Regions from separate parts of the Homo sapiens genome. Here region 1 is linked to region 2. The links are contacts of gene promoters, found by promoter capture Hi-C in blood cells and fetal thymus (Javierre and others, 2016). All regions are on one chromosome and are shown on one strand. The core of a region is centred on a gene start or on the middle of the fragment in contact, and the rest is flanking DNA. Distances in the headings are between cores, read along the strand shown.

Region 1 (4,004 bases), core at 751-3,250, 240 kb before region 2:
TTTCTTTTTTGAGATGGAGTTTCCCTCGTCTCCCAGGCTGGAGTGCAGTGGCGCGATCTCGGCTCACTGCAACCCCCGCCTCCTGGGTTCAAGTGACTCTCCTGCCTCAGCCTTCCGAGTACCTGGGATTACAGGCACACGCCACCATGCCCAGGAAATTTTTGTATTTTTTGTAGAGACGGGGTTTCACCATGTTGGCCAGGCTGGTCTCAAACTCCTGACCTCAGGTAATCTGCCCACCTTGGCCTCCCAAATGCTGGGATTACAGGCATGAGTCATCACACCTGGCCCTATCACCCTTATTCTTTTTTTTTTTTTTTTTTTTGAGACAGACTTTAGCTCTTATTGCCCAGGCTGGAGTGCAATGGCACAATCTCGGCTCACCACAATCTCCACCTTTCAGGTTCAAGCGATTATCCTGCCTCAGCCTCTCAAGTAGCTAGCATCACAGGCATGCACCACCATGCCTGGCTAATTTCGCATTTTTAGTAAAGGCGGAGTTTCTACATGTTGGTCAGCCTGGTCTCGAACTTCCAATCTCAGGTGAACTGCCCGGCTCGGCCTCCCAAAATGTTGGGATTATAGGCATGAGCCACTGTGCTCAGCACCCTTATTCTTAAGTTAGTTTGGTTCTCTAAGGTTCCCAGGGCTGGCAGCCTCACTGAAGTAGAAATCTTTGTATTGTTCCTACCCAAAGACTGGTTTTTCTTTTCTTTCTTTCTTTCTTTTAGAAACAGGGTCTTGCTCTGTCACCCAGGCTGGAGTGCAGTGGTGAAATTGTAGCTCACTGCAGCCTCAAACTCCTGGGCTCAAGTGATCCTCCTGCCTCAGCCTCCCGAGTAGCAAGGACTACAGATGCATGTCACTAACCTGGCTAATTTTTTTTTTTTAATTTTTTGTAGAGATGGGGTCTCACTATGCTGCCCAGATAGTCTCGAACTCCTGGTTTTAAGTGATCCTCCCCTTAAGGGCTGGTTTTCAATCTGTCGGTAACTGGCTATTACAAAACAACCCAGGCAGCAGGATGAGTAGCAACTTGCTGGCCACAGGTCTACTTACAGGCACTTTCCTGCCTCCCTATGAAGGTTGTGAGTATAAATCTTGGCTGGATGCAGTGGTTCGTGCCTGTTAACCCCAGCACTTTGGGAGGCTGAGGCAGGCGGATCACTTGAGTCCAGGAATTTGAGACCAGCCTGGCCAACAAGGCAAAACCCCATCTTTAGAAGATATACAAAAAATTAGCTGGGTGTGGTGGTGCATGCCTGTAGTCCCAGCTACTTGGGAGTCTGAAGTGGGAGGACTGCTTGAGCCTGGGAGGTGGAGCACAGAGGTGGAGTGCAGTGAGCCGAGATCGCATCACTGCACTCCAGTCTGGAAGACAGAGTGAGACCCTGTCTCAAAAACAAACAAACAAAACTATGTATTCACAGCATACAGCATGATGTTTTAAATGTATGTATATACTACAAAATGATTAAGTCGAGCTAATTAACAGAATTTTTCATAAAGCCATTGCTGTGATAACTAATAGCTAATATTATAGAATATTTTAAATATTTTATAGAATATGCATTAAAATATTTTAATACTTCAAGTTTATTATAAATTTTAAATAGCAATATCTTAATATTACCATTTTAAGTTATTATATTTGATATGTTAATAGTATTACATACTAATATTTAATAATATTTTAATAGTATTTTTAAATAACATCTTCATTTTACTATTCAGCTCTTTTCGTAACAGCTCCTATTTACTGAGCACTTACTATGTGCTGCCAGGCACTACGGAAAGCGCTTCACCTTCTCATCCCAGGGAGTTCCTGCAGCGACCTTGTAAGGTTGCTGCCCTTATTCCTGCTTTAGAGATGAGGAAACTCGAGTGTCAAGTTACACGCCCAAGCTGCCCTGGGACACTGCTTGTGAACCCAGGAGAGTGATTCCAAGGTTGCAGCCCTTAGAACAATGATGGCTGCCTGGTCCTGTGCCCATCTGTTGGGTGGCCCTGGTCTCTCTGTGGTGCTTCATTACACCATCTCCTCACCCATCAGCACCTTAACTCCAGCTGAGCCCTCAGGTTTCTTCAGATGGACTCGTGCTCCAGCCCCTCAGAGGGCACATCCCTGCTGCCTGCCTTCCCCAAACGTACCCATGATCCTGCGAATGGGGTCATCGGGACTGGCCACGGCCTGGATCTGGCCCTTGAGCACGGTCTCCTTGTCCGTGGTGAAGGGAGAGGACCCACACAGGGAGAGGCAGCTGCTCACCTCCAGGCACACCTTCTCCCCGATGGTAGTGAGGACGTCCTTCAGATGGAAGGAGCTGGGGCAGAGGAGGGGAGAAAGGGCCTATAAGTAAAATACACCTCTAACCAGCTCCAACCGCCCACACCCGGGTGAGAATGACGGCACCAATAACTGGATTTGTGTGTTCAAGGGACAATTTGAGACTCTTTTCCCTGCCACCTTACCTCTCAGGCTGTGCATACCTGACCAGGGGGACTTTCTTTCTCTCCCTCTGCTAGAAAGGACAGTGGGAAGGGCAGGGGCTCAGAGTATACCAGGACCAACGACCCAAAGCACAACTTCCTGCTAGCCTCTGTGTGATAAAATCAGCCTGGAATGACCTCAGAATATCTTGATATACCTCTGGAGGAATACACAAGAAAGCAGGCATTTGGTAGCTGTGGGACAAGAGGGAGAGAGAAACTCTTCATTGGATGCCCTTTTGTACCTTTTGATTTTTGAAACATACACATGTATTAACTAATTTTAAAAGAATAAAGAGGCCGGGCTCAGTGGCTCACGCCTATAATCCCAGAACTTTGGGAGGCCAAGGCAGATGGATCAGGAGTTCTAGGTCAGGAGTTCAAGACCAGCCTGGCCAACATGGTGAAACCCCATCTCTACTAAAAATACAAAAAGATTAGCTGGGCATGGTGATAGGTGCCTGTAATCCCAGCTACTCAGGAGACTGTGGTAGGAGAATCACTTGAATCCAGGAAGTGGACGCCGAGATCACGTCATTGCACTCCAGCCTGGGCAACAAGAGTGAAACTCCATCACAAAAAAATAAAAAAATATATAAAAATTAAAAAATTTTTAAAAAATAAAAGAATAACGAAAAGTGAAATCCTAAAGTTAAAAAAAAAGAGTACCTGGATACCCTGGGTCCCCCAGGCTCTCCCAGGGTGCCTGTGGGGAGCCCCCATGCTGGCAGGCATGCTGTGAGAAGGTAACTGCCTCTGTTGTGGGTCTAGATCCTTTGTATGTAGAATTACTGGGGGGCATGGGAGCAAGCCCTGGCACTCACCATTGGCACCAGCTCTGTGCCCACCCCTGGAGGACCAGGGAGGATATGGGAGTGCAAGGCTGGGCTCCCAAGAAAGCACTGACCTGGATCCCACCCTCAGCGGGAGCTTTGACAGAGTAGTTCTCCAGGCAGGGGACCTAGGTGACAGCCCAGAGCTGTACCTGTGCAAAGGCCTCAGGCTAGGCCCTCAGCTGAGCAAACAAGTTTCCTGGCCTCTCAGCAAACTAGTTTGACTGTCAAAACTGTTGAGGCCCTAGTCACAACTTACGGACACGCCCCACACTGCACTGAACACAGCCATGCTTTGTGAAAATTCAGCAGTAAAATTCCTCCATTTTGTAAGGATGAGAATGTTTAGGGGGTACTTCCCTTGAAGAAGTCTCTGAATTGGACCTTGTTAGATAGAGCATTTACTTAGAACCACTCAAAGATATTCTATAGGCTGGAAACCATAGAAGTCACCCAACATGACTCCATGGTAGGAGCGGTCACTGAAGCCTGCACGCGTGCAGATGCGGACTCGTGCTGGGTAAGAAAATGATGCATTACACTGAGCACAGAACGCCTACAGGGAACAAGCAAGGGCAGAACACTTCAACCACATACATGCAGCTCTGCAGGAATATAGCTGGTTTCTCTCATGACCTTCCTCTAGGGCTCTGCTTTTCACTGTTAGTCGGTTATGAAAGC
Region 2 (3,492 bases), core at 25-2,524:
AAACTGTGGACTTCCAGGTTAGCAAGCCCCAAACCTAATCTTTTCTCAACTAGCTGCTTTTATCTAGACAACTAGACCATCTGAAGTCAAAAAGGACCTCAGAGATCATTTTACGCCCCACCCGCATCACTTTTACAGATGAAGACATTCAAGCCAAACGGGATTAAGTTATCTCGCCCAGGGTCTCGCAAGTCCAGACTAGATCCTGGACTCCCCGTTCGCCTCTCCAGGAAGAACAAGTAATTATGCTTATTATAATCGCCACACAGCTTCATCTAGAGAAATGTCACTCACTGATTTTCAGAAGCTGAAATAGGTTTTCCATTCAATTAACCACAAACTAGGTCTTACGTATATACTTATTAAAGGAGACTCACAGACATCAAATTCTATAAATTGCAGTTAAAGAACATAAAAAAACACAACCTTGCCAAATATGCCACAAATTAAACTAAAGGATATTTTAGTGTTTCTATGATTGCTGGGGGTATGTAATTTCAAATACTGCACTTTCTCACTGAGATCTGTGCTATGCGGCTCTGGGTTCCAGGGACGTTTTAGTGCTTACCTTCTTCTCCCGCATGCTTAGAAGCCTTTGGACCTCTTGCGCAATGAGGAAACCCCAGGGTAACTGTGGGCAGTTGGCTGAGTAGAACCAGAAGCGTAAACATAGTCTGGCAACTGTCAAACAAACTAAAACAAACAAAAAAAAATATTAAAAAAAAAAGGCCCCTAGCTCAGCACTTTGAGTTTCTGTCGAACTGAATCACCAACCTGTTGTACTCAAAGCCTAGGCGCAAGAGCGCCCGGCGCGCGGTTTCGGTCGCCGGAACCCGACGCGCGCCCAGGAAGCAGCCCCTGAGAGCGCCTGGGACAAACGCCGTGCCCAGTGACCCTGCCGAGGGCTGATCGGGCACCTGTCGCCGCGGGCAACCCTCGCTATGTGTTCGAATCCAACCCAGTCCGCCGAGGTGGCCCCTTCCAGGTAACCCCCTCCCCGCCGAGGTCCTGCCGCCAGGCCTCGTACCTGTGTCCCCCCGCACATGTTCCAGCAGCCCCCGGGCCAGAGGCTCTTCTTGGGGCGGTTCCTTCGGCCGCCAGGCCCTCGGTCTCCGGCGCCCTCAAACCTCGGCGACGCTCCGGGCCTCGCTCTCCGCAGGGTCTGGATGGCCCCCGCGCGCAAACCTGGGAAGGGCCTGGGGTTCGCAGAGGGGCGCCCGGGGAACACGCGCGGGGTGAGGTCCTGCCTCGGTCCGGGGAGGCGGCCGACGGAGGACGGGAGGAGGCGGCTACCTGGGGACACCTGGCCGCGCCCCACCTCCCGGGGGCCGGGCCTACCTGCGGCGAGCGGGCGGGCAGTGGGCCGGCGTCTCCCGGGAGCCCGCGCTGCGCTCTCAGCCGCCCCAGCTTCTGCCCCATCCCCGGGCGGGCCAGCCGCCTGCCGCCAGTTCTGGCCCCGCCTTGGCGGCGCGGGTGGCTGCTTTTCGATTTGTGTCTGCACTCGGCGTTCTCAATGATCCTAATTCAGGAAGCATTTCGGTTCTCAGTCTTAAGCAGAGCGCCCTCGGCGCGTCCAGGGCTTTTCGCTTTGGGTCCCACTGGGCCAGGAGTCCTGTGGTTACCTTAGGTCAACTGTTCTCAAAAGGGTGGTCCGGGGACGAGGACAAGATATTCATCAGACAAAATACCCTTTATTCGTGATAAGAAATGGAAATGACCTTACAAGTAATTGATTACATTGGTTCTCCAATGGTGGTCCGCCAGGTCTGGGATGTCTCCAAGATCTTTTCCAGGGGTCTCTGAGGGCAAAACTATTTCCATTATAGTAACAATAAATGATTTGCCATTTTCACTTTCATTCTCTCAAGAGTGTACAGTGGAAATTTCCAGGGGCTATTTGAAGTGTAATAACGTCATCATTCTGTCTCCTAATAGAATACCTGAGTGAGCGTGCTTGTATTTTCTGGTATTTTCCATAGTAGTATGTTTACATTATCAGTATGTACATTTTATAGAGATTTATGTAGATTTATAGAGATTAATAAAATTTGTTCTCAGTACTTGTGAACTTAATTTTTTTTCTTTCCTTTTTTCTTTTTCAGAGTAGGGGGTCTCACTTTGTTGCCCAGGAACTCCTGGGCTCAAGAGATCCTCCTGTCTCATCCTCCAGAGTAGCTGGGACTACAGGTGTCCACCAACTCTCTTGGCTACTGCTTTTGTACTTTGATTAGTTCTATTTGTTCATATCTACTAGGATAGCTATAACCTCATTTTTCTGAAGTAATTATCTTGAAATCTTGATCTTTTCCTTGAGTCTATGCATAAACATAACAAAAAGTAAGCTTTGTTGTCTTGATTTCAAATAATATTTTGAAAATTTCTCAGTTTTAATGTTAGATAATAAATATCATTAGATAAAATTCACATAAGTGAAAGCTCTTTGGGGTCCTTGATAATGTAAAAGAGCGTAAAAAGGTCTTGATTAAAGACTTCAAAAACTGCTGCATCAAGTAATGAAGGCAGCAGGTGGACAGAGTACCTATGCCAGGTGATGGTCACATCCTTCTTTATCCAAAGAACGTGCTTAACAGTTCTTTGAAACACTATTTATGCTTTGGTCGAAGTGGTCTGGCACTTGCTGGGGACCAAGGGAAACATTTTTTCCCCCTTCATTTTTTTTTTTTTTTTCTTGAGACAGAGTCTTGCTCTGTCACCCAGGCTGGAGTACAGTGGCACAATCTTGGCTTACTGTAACCTTCGCCTCCTGGGTTCAAGCGATTCTCCTGCCTCAGCCTTCCGAGTAGCTGGGATTACAGGCATCCACCACCACGCCCGGCTAATTTTTTGTACATTTAGGAGAGAGGGGTTTTCACCATGTTGGCCAGGTTGTTCTCAAACTCCTGACCTCAGGTGATCCACCTACCTCGGCCTCCCAAAGTGCTGGGATTACAGGCATGAGCCACTGTGCCCGGCCTCAAATTTTTGACTAATTCAATTTTTACCAAATTCTGTTTTTCTCCTCCCAAAGGATATTGTCTATTTTATTATTATTATTGATAATCAACTGAATTATTCCTAAGTTTTCTGCAGAAATTTTGTTTTCACTGATTCCTTCTAGGCAGTGCTTTTCCTTTCCCTTCTTCCAATCCCTTCCTCTTCACTTTCCATTTGTCTACCTCGTGGTCTAAACTATTTCTATGATGGATTCTTCTTTCCCTCTTATTCAAGCAATTGGGATCAGACTATGAAGAGGCCAGACATGGTTTATTGTGGTTGAACACAAGAATAGGAAACATTTTCACTAGAACACCCATTTTCCTGTTTATTCATTGAGTCAACCTACAGCACTGAGACCTCCTGGTGGGGAGATGGACACCACAGCTTCTGTTGTGGAGGAGAACTTAATCTGACTGAGACCTATATCTGAGAATGTGGGCCTGTAAAGTTCTTATCAAGTGCAAGAACTGACTTATTCATTTTTGCATTCTCGAC

Evidence for each region. The method cuts DNA at HindIII sites, captures the fragments that hold promoters and counts their contacts. A CHiCAGO score of 5 or more calls a contact.
Region 1: a contact is called between a fragment that was not itself captured here and the fragment with the promoter of PRRG4 in region 2, in 1 of 17 cell types (M0 macrophages). The highest score is 5.1, in M0 macrophages.

Annotation. Positions count from the first base shown.
Region 1 is chr11:33,067,007-33,071,010 of GRCh38, reverse strand. It overlaps TCP11L1 (t-complex 11 like 1), which reads right to left. Exons shown (of 10, transcript NM_018393.4): 9 at 2,152-2,324. Among named protein-coding and RNA genes, the nearest start is that of LINC00294, 7.1 kb to the left of the region's middle. RefSeq lists an enhancer at 2,259-2,760. The HindIII fragment of the contact is 8,642 bases long and covers 1-4,004 here.
Region 2 is chr11:32,827,709-32,831,200 of GRCh38, reverse strand. It overlaps PRRG4 (proline rich and Gla domain 4), which reads right to left and starts at 1,274. Exons shown (of 6, transcript NM_024081.6): 1 at 1,028-1,274; 2 at 569-693. The coding sequence starts at 671. It also overlaps a transcript of CCDC73 not described here. RefSeq lists enhancers at 578-637, 648-697 and a silencer at 1,118-1,497. The HindIII fragment of the contact is 6,622 bases long and covers 1-2,344 here.